4 separate regions of the Homo sapiens genome follow, and regions 2, 3 and 4 are each linked to region 1. Evidence: promoter capture Hi-C in 16 types of primary human blood cells and fetal thymus (Javierre and others, 2016). All regions are on one chromosome and are shown on one strand. The core of a region is centred on a gene start or on the middle of the fragment in contact, and the rest is flanking DNA. Distances in the headings are between cores, read along the strand shown.

Evidence for each region. The method cuts DNA at HindIII sites, captures the fragments that hold promoters and counts their contacts. A CHiCAGO score of 5 or more calls a contact.
Region 2: a fragment that was not itself captured here is called in contact with the fragment with the promoter of ZRANB1 in region 1 in 3 of 17 cell types (fetal thymus, total CD8 T cells and activated CD4 T cells); the score reaches 5.9 in fetal thymus.
Region 3: a fragment that was not itself captured here is called in contact with the fragment with the promoter of ZRANB1 in region 1 in 1 of 17 cell types (total CD8 T cells); the score reaches 7.4 in total CD8 T cells.
Region 4: a contact is called between a fragment that was not itself captured here and the fragment with the promoter of ZRANB1 in region 1, in 8 of 17 cell types (M1 macrophages, erythroblasts, M0 macrophages and 5 more). The highest score is 8.9, in M1 macrophages.

The regions. Positions count from the first base shown.
Region 1 is chr10:124,940,808-124,943,461 of GRCh38, forward strand. ZRANB1 (zinc finger RANBP2-type containing 1) reads left to right here and starts at 1,316. Exons shown (of 9, transcript NM_017580.3): 1 at 1,316-2,500. The coding sequence starts at 1,687. The HindIII fragment of the contact is 2,790 bases long and covers 274-2,654 here.
Region 2 is chr10:124,487,310-124,489,963 of GRCh38, forward strand. It overlaps LHPP (phospholysine phosphohistidine inorganic pyrophosphate phosphatase), which reads left to right. Exons shown (of 7, transcript NM_022126.4): 3 at 1,113-1,266. Among named protein-coding and RNA genes, the nearest start is that of LHPP, 27 kb to the left of the region's middle. The HindIII fragment of the contact is 309 bases long and covers 1,184-1,492 here.
Region 3 is chr10:124,504,482-124,507,135 of GRCh38, forward strand. The region is part of intron 5 of LHPP (phospholysine phosphohistidine inorganic pyrophosphate phosphatase); the gene reads left to right. Among named protein-coding and RNA genes, the nearest start is that of LHPP, 44 kb to the left of the region's middle. The HindIII fragment of the contact is 213 bases long and covers 1,200-1,412 here.
Region 4 is chr10:124,525,492-124,528,145 of GRCh38, forward strand. All of the region lies in intron 6 of LHPP (phospholysine phosphohistidine inorganic pyrophosphate phosphatase), which reads left to right. Among named protein-coding and RNA genes, the nearest start is that of LHPP, 65 kb to the left of the region's middle. The HindIII fragment of the contact is 9,266 bases long and covers 1-2,654 here.

The sequences.
Region 1 (2,654 bases), core at 66-2,565:
CTCTACTAAAAATACAAAAATTAGCCGGGCATGGTGGCATGCACCTGTAATCTCGGCTACTTGGGAGGCTGAGGCAGGAGAATCGCTTGAACCTGGGAGGTGGAGGTTGCAGTGAGCTTAGATTGCACCACTCCACTGCATTCCAGCCTGGGCAAAACATAGCAAGACTCCATCTCAAAAAAACAAAAATGAAAACAACAACAACAAAAAAACAAACAAACAAAAGATTTAACCCTCTAGGTTCAGGAAAAATCCCTGAGAAAGAGAGAGCAAAGCTTCTATACTCTGCCTAGGATTTCTTTCTCTTTCCGGGTGAAAAATAGGTGTTGGGATGATACTGAGTTGATAAAAGTATTTAGGAAAAGTGGCCAGTGTCTAAATTCAAGCCATTAAAAAAAAAAAAATTAAATTTGTTATGTAAGTTGCTTCATTTATGAATTAGTTGCCATTAAATTATGAAGTCTTTCTTCATTATAGTGTAGTGTTAGCCCATTGTTGAATCCTAGAAATCTTTTAAGTAGTGTGAATATCTTTTAAATATGAATTGGATTTTTTGGGGGGCAGGGGATGGAGTCTCACTCTGTCACCCAGGCTAGAGTGCAGTGGTGCGATCTTAGCTCACTGCAACCTCTGCCTGCCGGGTTCAAGCAGTTCTCTGCCTCAGCCTCCTGAGTAGCTGGGATTACAGGCACCTACCACCATGCACGGCTAATTTTTGTATTTTTATAGAGACGGGGCTTTACCATCTTGGCCAGGCTGGTCTTGAACTCCTGACCTTGTGATCTACCCGCCTCAGCCTCCCAAAATGCTGGGATTATAGGCTTGAGCTACTGCCCCCGGCCATGAATTAGATTTTGAGTATATTTTAAATATTCAAAATTTAAAATATTTTAATTATGAACATTCACAATTATATTGGAATGATTATGCTACTGGTTATTTCAGTGACCTTCCACAGATTTAATTTTCCCCAGTACAGTCTTCTTTTTTTTACTCCAGATAGAACTAGATTTTGAGGCTACAGATTATCAAGGAACTACCTATTTCATAATGTTACTTTGTTAATTGTAGCCATTACTTCTCAACATGTTTCTTTACTACCTGTGCTAATTAAGAACAGTGGATAATTAGCATTTTAAGTTGCTTTTCTCCCTTAGCGAGAATGATAAAATAGACGTTGCTTGATCTTCTGAATTCATGAATCATAATCTGTGTTCATAATTTGAGAATGGTTATGTGTTTAAGCTATTTTTTAGTTTGTGTTGTTTCCTCTACCTTTGTCTCTTTAAACTATTGGTTACTTTTCTAAATTGATGTGATGGCCTCCCTGAAATTAAACATTTCTATTAGTGGCTTCCCGTTAATCTCATCCTTCTTAGATCAAACCTCGTTATATCTCCTGCCTATCTCTTTTGCATTCCAAAGTTCAGTTTTATTAAATCCCAGGGTCTAAGATTTTTTCTTTGAGAATTTATCTCCAGTGTTTCTATGGAAATTAAAAAAGAAAATTAGGATAATTCAATGTCGAAATGTTGCATGCATCTTTTGAGAAATTTATATTTTGTAGGTTGAAGGACTTGCTTTTTGGGCAGCGTATTTTTGGAGGTGGAATGTAGTTATTTTAATAACCATGTCCTAATTATTTATAGCTTCCTGCCTGACACAGCTCACTTCAAGAAGTGCACAATGTCAGAACGTGGAATTAAGTGGGCTTGTGAATATTGTACGTATGAAAACTGGCCATCTGCAATCAAGTGTACTATGTGTCGTGCCCAAAGACCTAGTGGAACAATTATTACAGAAGATCCATTTAAAAGTGGTTCAAGTGATGTTGGTAGAGATTGGGATCCTTCCAGCACCGAAGGAGGAAGTAGTCCTTTGATATGTCCAGACTCTAGTGCAAGACCAAGGGTGAAATCTTCGTATAGCATGGAAAATGCAAATAAGTGGTCATGCCACATGTGTACATATTTGAACTGGCCAAGAGCAATCAGATGTACCCAGTGCTTATCCCAACGTAGGACCAGGAGTCCTACAGAATCTCCTCAGTCCTCAGGATCTGGCTCAAGACCAGTTGCTTTTTCTGTTGATCCTTGTGAGGAATACAATGATAGAAATAAACTGAACACTAGGACACAGCACTGGACTTGCTCTGTTTGCACATATGAAAACTGGGCCAAGGCTAAAAGATGTGTTGTTTGTGATCATCCCAGACCTAATAACATTGAAGCAATAGAATTGGCAGAGACTGAAGAGGCTTCTTCAATAATAAATGAGCAAGACAGAGCTCGATGGAGGGGAAGTTGCAGTAGTGGTAATAGCCAAAGGAGATCACCTCCTGCTACGAAGCGGGACTCTGAAGTGAAAATGGATTTTCAGAGGATTGAATTGGCTGGTGCTGTGGGAAGCAAGGAGGAACTTGAAGTAGACTTTAAAAAACTAAAGCAAATTAAAAACAGGATGAAAAAGACTGATTGGCTCTTCCTCAATGCTTGTGTGGGTAAGTTTCTGTATTCTGCATTTTTTGCGTGGGATGGGAAAAGGTAGTAAAAATGATATGAAAAGAGCTGGGTGCGCTGACACACGTTTGTGGTCTTAGCCACTTGCTTGAAACCAGGAGTTTGAGGCTGTAGTATGCCATGATCGGTCTGTGA
Region 2 (2,654 bases), core at 88-2,587, 450 kb before region 1:
ATTTTACACGTCCTCCATCTGCTGCAGCTGTTCAGTATCCTCACCAGACCTTGGTGTTATCAGTCTTTTTAATTCTCACCATTCTGGTGGGTATGAAATCGTATCTCATTGTGTATTTCAGTTTCTTTCTTTCTTTTTTTTTTTTTTTTTTGAGACAGAGTCTCGCTCTGTTGCCCAGGCTGGAATACAGTGGTGCAATCTCAGCCCACTGCAACCTCTGCCTCTCGGGTTCAAGTGATTCTACTGCCTCAGACTCCTGAGTAGCTGAGATTACAGGCGGCCGCCACCGTGCCGGGCTGATTGTTGTATTTTTAGTAGAGATGGGATTTTGACCATGTTGGCCAGGCTGGTCTCGAACTCCTGAACTCAGGCGATCCGCCCACCTTGACCTCCCAAAGTGCTGGGATTACAGGCATGAGCCACCGCACCTGGCCTCAGTTTCTTTTCAATTTAGAAAGGTCAACATCTAGTCCTAAGAGAGATGACAGCATGTTTCTTCTAGGATCTGAAAACACAGATCCAATGATTTGATGTATCCTTGCAAATTTTCCTATTTTAATTTAAAATGGGGGAAGACAAAGAAGGAGAAGGAGGAAGAGAGTTTCCTAAGGGAGCTGGTGAACTGGACCTGTGGGGATGGAATTCTGCTTTTTCTTCAGGACATATGTGTGGGGTTGCCTGAAATGTGTCAACGGTTCTTACAGTTTGGGACCAGTAGTGCCAACCCTCCAAGGCTTGTGCAGCCCCATTTCCTCCTGCTGCAGGCTCTCAGTGTCTTCTGAGCAGATTTCCCTTCTCAGTAGCAAAGCTGTGGGTTTCCTGCCTGCGATAGTGACCTCAGGGAGCTCCTGGGGCTGATGTGGTATTGGGATGGAGGGTCCTGGGTGTGTCCACCTTTCTCCTCATAAGCCCTCTCTGAGGAGCCGAATTCCCTCCTCTGTCAAATAGGAATAACCCTTCTGTGTCTACCTCCCATGGCAGCTGTGATGATCAGAAAGAAATGCATCTGAGAAAGGGGGAGGACATGTGAAAGGTGTCCCTGGTAGGAGATGGGGAGGTAGGCCATGTCCTCCCAGGGCTCCGTGGCACTCTGTCTCTCTCTCTCTTTCCAGGAGTCCGCTCAGAATTTGATCAGATCGACACATCCAACCCAAACTGTGTGGTAATTGCAGACGCAGGAGAAAGCTTTTCTTATCAAAACATGAATAACGCCTTCCAGGTGCTCATGGAGCTGGAAAAACCTGTGCTCATATCACTGGGAAAAGGGTAAGTTGGCTCCAGGGAGAGTCATTTCTCGGTGCTTTAGATGATGCTGTGCCAGTCTCCAACTTGCGGAATCAGGCAGAGAAGGATGCAGAAGGGGAGGTGGGAGGAGCACCGGTGATCTTCTTTTCCCTCCCTTTTTCATGCTTTCTCTCTTCATTTCTTTATTCCTCTCCTTTAATCATTTCTTTAGGAAATAGGAACACTGTCTTCAGGAGCTGGTTGATCAAGCTTCCATGTGGAGTCTAGACTAGAAGAGGGCGTCATTGCAGAGGGAGACCCTCTGGAGATCTCAGAGGCCAAGTGTTGATTGTCCCAAGTTTAGAGCAAAGAAGGAGAAGGTGCATTTGCATAGGATGTAGCAGGGTGTTGGAGAATGCTCTCAAGGGTTGTCTAATTAGTAAAACATAGGCTTGAGGGCCTACCCAGTCTGGGCACCGACAGTCTCTGGCCACAGATCACTGTCTCTGTGAAGTTGTGATTTTGTGATCAGTGTTTTGTCTGAGCCTTTAGCACATGCCTTGCCATCTCTTTCTTAAACAAAACAGTGTTGGTTATTTTTAACATTTTTCTTACACTGAGATAGCACATGTTCATTGAAGAAAAATTAGACAATACAGATGAGCAAAAGAAGAAACCAGAAAGTATTTTTAGTCCCACTGCACGAGGAAAACACCTGTCCCTATTTTGGTGTATGTCCTTGCAAGTGGCTTCCTGTGCGAATAGACTATTATGGATGGAGATGTTCACAGCATCGATGTCACACTTGACCTTGTTTTGTCATCTGTTTTTTATTGTTCACCAAACAATATTTGTGACTGACTTAGCATGCAGCAAATGGATATGTCTTGGGGCATGGTTATCTATGGTGTGGCTATCTTGTATATATATATATTTTTTAAGACTGAGTCTCGCTCTGTCACCCAGGCTGGAGTGCAGCGGCGTGATCTCGGCTCGCTGCAACCTCTCCCTCCCGGGTTCAAGCGATTCTCCTGCCTCAGCCTCCTGAGTAGCTGGGACTACAGGCGCCCGCCACCATCCCAGCTAATTTTTATATTTTTGGTAGAGGCGGGGTTTCACCATGTTGGCCAGGATGGTCTCAATCTCCTGACCTTGTGATCCGCCCGCCTTGGCCTCCCAAAGTGCTGGGATTACAGGCATGAGCCACCGCCCCCAACCTCTTGTAATTTTTTTCTTTTTTTTTTTTTCTGCTTATAAGTTTATTCAATGCAAAATAACCCTCACCAGTTTTACTGAGGTGGCTGACCATGTCCACGACCAAATACGCCTGTAAACTGAAATTCGGTTGCTGACCCATTCCCAGCCTCAGCTTTCTCACTGGCACCAGGGGGACAGCACTCCATCTGTGGGTGTCTCTTTCTCTCTATGGC
Region 3 (2,654 bases), core at 56-2,555, 440 kb before region 1:
TCCAGCTACTTGGGGGGCTGAGGTGGGCAGATTGCTTGGGCCCAGGAGGTTGAGGTTGCAGCAAGCTGAGATTGCACCACTGCACTCCAGCCTGGGCAACTGAGCGAGACCCTGTCTCAAAAAAAAAAAAATAGGAAAGCAAGAAGGAAGGAAGGAAAGAAGGAAGGAAGGAGGGAAGGGGAAGGGAAGAGAGGGGAGGAGACGAGACTGGCTGTCCAGATGGCATTGCTGGTGATATTTGGATGGTCTGACCTTGGGTGGTCTCCCTGCCTTTTTCTTGTGGCATTTTCAGTTATTTTCACAGTCAGCTTCCTTCACATTTCGAATGAGATACAGCCCACCTCACCGCCGAAAGAAGACCCCTCATGGGGGTCTGGTGAATCTGGGTTTGTCGTTTTCGGATGCTGGGGCAGTGCGTCTGGGAGGGAGCGGGGCTGTGGATTCCTGGTGGGTCACCGTGGCTGCTTGAGGCTTTGGTCCCTGCCGCTGCCATCCACCCTGAGCATCTGTGGCCCTGGAGAGCGAAAGACTTGTTTCCTCTGGTGGCTCCGAGCATATGTGGCAAAGCTGTGTCTTATTTACCTCCCACATCATCATCCTCTCCTACCCTCATATGACATTTCTGCCTGTCCCCTTGACAGTGGAGTAGCAGCTGCATGTTCCGAACGTCCCCACCCTGCCATTTTCCTAAAATGCTCACTAACGTTATTTGACTCTCAGGATGTGTAGACATTTTAAAGCTGTATTTCAAGATAAGGCCATTTCAAATGAACTGTGTCTTATGCACAGGGTAATAATTCTCTGTTCCTGGCTTTTTTATTTTTAATGAAAAATGCCTGCAAGGACCTCTCTTGCTGCTGAATGCCAGGCTGTGGCAAACCTTAAATTTTTCCAGCTGCTTTAATCAATAAAGTTATCACCAGTCATTTCCCTTGATCACTGCTGCTTCCCGAGACCCTGACCTGCTTCTTGCTGCTGAGTTTTCAGTCTGCACTCAGAATAGATATAACTCCCCAAATCCAATTTTCATTTTAACCTTTCCTCAGTGGCCTAGAAATCACAGATTGCTGGTATTATGCTAATAGATTGGAAATTCAAACCTCTTAGAGGCAACCTGGCCCTTTCTAGGATTCAGTAATAAGGCAAAGAATAACATACCTTAAAGGTTACTTCTAGAAATATCTAATTCTCACGGTTTAAGCTTCTGAATCAGTGGATGGTTTTATAGCTTCATATGAGCACCCAAGTGATGTGAAGGTTTTGGCAGTTCTCCATCATCATAAGAAGTTCTGTGGGATGCAAATCCTGCAGGTTTAGTGGAGATTGAGACTGTTCAAACCAGAGCACTTAGTTATATGTGACAGCCAAGAACCCTCGCCTGGAGGGGCCCGTTTCACAGGTGAGGAGCCTGAAGCTTAGAGATGAAACACCTTGTCATAGGCGCTTTGCATTCCCACCATGAGGTTAAGACAGGATTTCTCAGGCTGGGCGCAGTTGCTCACACCTGTAATCCCAGCACTTTGGGAGGCCGAGGTGGGTGGATCACGAGCCCAGGAGTTCGAGACCAGCCTGGGTAACATGGTGAAACCCTGTCTCTACAAAAAAATACAAAAATTAACTGGGCATGGTGGCTGGCACATGCCTGTGGTCCCAGCTGCTCAGGAAGCTGACGCACGAGATTCGCTTGAATCTGGGAGGCAGGGGTTGCAGTGAGCCAAGATGGTACCACTGTACTCTAGGCTGGACAAGAGAGTAAGACCTTGTCTCAAAAAAAACAACAAACCCCCCCCCCACCCCGCGGTTTCTCAACCTCGACACTTGGTGTTTTTGGACTGGGTCATTTTGTGGTGAGGGGATGTCCTATGCATTGTAGGGTGCTAAACAGCATCCCACTGTCCGCCCACTACATGGGACCACCCCCTTCCCAAGCTGTGAAACCAAAATTGTCTGTAGACATTGCCAGATGTGCCCTGGGGAGAACCGCAGCATTAAGCGGTATTAAGAGAACGGTTACGGAGAACTCTAGTACTGAACCCAAGATTACTTTGCCAATGAGGAGTGAAGCCAGGCACCAAACCATCGTCTTCCAGCCCCGTCCAGTGCTCTTTGCCATAGCCCAACTCTCAGGGAGGACCAGCGGTGCAGCAGAATTTCTTAGGGAGGTGGGGAGGGTAGGGAGGATTTCAGGTTGGGGGGTAGGGAAGATTTCAGGTTGGCGGGTAGGGAAGATTTCAAGTGGGGTGGGTAAGGAGGATTTCAGGTTGGGGGGTAGGGAAGATTTCAAGTGGGGTGGGTAAGGAGGATTTCAGGTTGGGGGGGGTAGGGAGGATTTCAGGTGGGGGGGTAGGGAGGATTTCAGGTAGGGGGTAGGGAGGATTTCAGGTGGAGAGGTAGACAGGATTTCAGGTTGGGGGGTAGGGAGGATTTCAGGTTGGGGGGTAGACAGGATTTCAGGTGGGGGGGTAGGGAGGATTTCAGGTGGGCGGGTAGACAGGATTTCAGGTGAGGGGGGTAGGGAGGATTTCAGGTCGGGGGGTAGACAGGATTTCAGGTGAGGGGGGTAGGGAGGATTTCAGGTGTAGGGGTAGACAGGATTTCAGGTGGGGGGGTAGGGAGGATTTCAGGTGCAGGGGTAGACAGGATTTCAGGTCGGG
Region 4 (2,654 bases), core at 79-2,578, 420 kb before region 1:
CCAGTTTACGGTCCTGGGAGGTTTCTGGACATTGTCAGCATGTGGCAGTCCCGGACGCTGGGCCTCCTGAGAGAGTGGGGAGGAGACCCGAGGCGGAGGCGAGTGTGTGAAAGGAGGCTGGTGGGGTCCACATGGCTCAGCAGGTGAACATGGGGTTTCCAGGGGCAGACACCCCATCGTGGCCCCCATGGCTTTGGTTGGGGCAGCATCAGCTTCCTCCTCTGCTGGGTTTCCTGCCTTCTGTTGGCTGCTGGGGCAGGGGAGACAGGATTGGGAACAGTCACCCTCTCTGGTACTGACCCTCATTAGCATTCTTGGTTCCTGAGCAAGGCTGCTTCATGTCCAGGGCAAGAGGGGAAAGATGTTAAAACCTGAACCCCCCTGCTGGGCTTGGTGCCGCCTGTGGGAAAACCGGTGGGCTGAGGGCTGGGGGGCTCTGAGCTGAGGAAGGGGGTCCCAGGTGGAGGCCGGGAGGTGGCTGCAGAGTGAGGCCACAAGGCCTGGGGGTTGGCCCAGAAGGTAGGACCCCTGTAGGCAGCCTCCCAACCCCAGGAATTTGCCTCTTGGGAACGTGCAGGTCCCTCGAGGGTCCTGGAAGGCGCTGGAGTGGTGGGACAGGGATTGAGGGAGCGTCAGCAGGGCCCTCTCTTCTCCCTAGAGCCGCTCAACACGTGTTGCAAGGCACGTGCTCTGGACCTGGTGCTCACACGTGCTCTTCTCCCAAGACACTCCCTGAAGCGCGTTCCCCAGGAGCTGGAAGGGGGATAACGCAGGTATGCCTCATGGCGGGGCCAGTGCTCATGCTTACACACACTCAGCCTCAGCTCGTCTACACCCTGCAACAGCCCAGAGAAGCCACCCGCCTTCTTACCCCTACCATTTAGATTTGCAAATGGAAGCTCAGAGAGGTGAAGTAACTTGCCCAAGGCCACACAGCCTACCAGTGTCAGAATCGGGATTCGAACCCACCTCTGCCTGACTCCAAGGCCTGTGCCCCTGAACATTCTCAAGCCACCCCCCAATTAGCCAAGTGTTGCTGGAGCTCTGAGCAGGGGCCGGGCCTCACAAAACAATAGTAGCCAGTGTGGGGGCTCACAGGACTGGTCAGCTCCCGCCCTCCCCCGCTTTGGCCCCCTCCACACACACACGACCTGCTGCTGAGCTGGACATAAGCAGGACCTGGCTCTGGGGGCTTCTGACCTAGGGCAGGCCCTGAAGTTGGTCATTAGACCCCACCCACCCACCTGAGAGCCTGGCGGAGATGTGACAGGTGACAGCCCCAGAAGTCCCATCGTTGCTGCCTTTGTGGTTAAAGTCCGCTGAACCCAAGCGCTCTCTTCCCCTCCAGTGTGTGGTGGGGAGGTGGGGAGGGGACCCAGGCAGATCTGGGAAGCCGTGGCCAGGCCGCAGCAAGCAGGGGAAGAAGGGGCCCGCAGTGAACTTGCAGCAGGAGCTGTGGCCACCGTCCTAGCCAGGCCGGCCACCTGCCCAAAATGTTCTCTAACCTTAACATGAACCTGGGCCACTTGGGCTCTGCTGGATGCCCCCAGGGCTGCCAGAGCCTGCCCGCCACAGAGCCCCTCTGAGACCTGGAGTCTCACCTGAGCCCTCTCGCTGCCCACAGGGCTGGCCTCTGCCTTTCCGCTGCTGCTCTGCGGCTCGGGGACACGGCCAGGGCTGGTGGCGCTTACAGCCCAGGGGCAGGGGAGGGCACATCCCCCACAGCATTCACCATTGCTGCTGTGTTCTGATGCATCAGGGAATCTGCATTTTTGACCCTTTGATTGCTACATCTTTTCCAGCCTGGAAAAGTGAAGAAGGAAGGAAAGGGGGCTCAGAGGCCCCTGACTCCTGTCCTTGCAGGCACAGCTGGACGCAGTTCTTATTTTCAACCATCTTGCAGCAGTGGTTTTATTTGTGCACAGGTTCCTCTGTGTCATGGGTGGGTCCCAGGATGTGAACCCGGTGTGCTCCTCTAGCTCCACTGTCCTCAGGTTGGGGACAGCCAGGGACAAGGCCCCCTACTCCAGCTCCAAACGTAGTTCCAGGCTGGGGTGCCCTTTGCCCAGGCCCAGCCTGGTAGCCCCGGGTGCTCTCCCTGACTTTTCATGAGCCCGGGGGCTGAAACCAGAGCAGCAGGGAGACAGAAAAGCCCAGCCCCACCCTCCAGAGGGGGAGTCCAGCTGCCCGGAGACCCCAAGAGCACTGCCAGAATCTGGGTATGAGACCCAGTCCCCTGCCGCGTGCTAACCATGTAACCTTGGACGTGATCTCTTTGTGCTTTTTTTTTTTTGTTTTTTTCTTTTTGAGATGCGGTCTTGTTCTGTTTCCTAGGTGGGAGTGCAGTGGCACCATCATGGCCCACTGCAGCCTGGAACTCCTGGGCACAAGTGATTCTCCCGCCTCAGCCTCCCAAATAGCTGGGAAACAGGTTTATGCCACCACGCCCAACTAATTTTTAAATTTTTTATAAAGATGGAGTCTCCCTGTGTTGCCCAGCCTCCTGGGCTCAAGTGATCTCCCCGCCTTGGCCTCCCAAAGTGCTGGGATTACCCGGCTTGAGCATGATCTTTTTGCCTTGCTTGGCTCTGGGTTTCCTCATGTGTCAAGTGGGGCTGAGCCCCAGCTGTGTGGGCTGAACAGGGGAGGGTTAA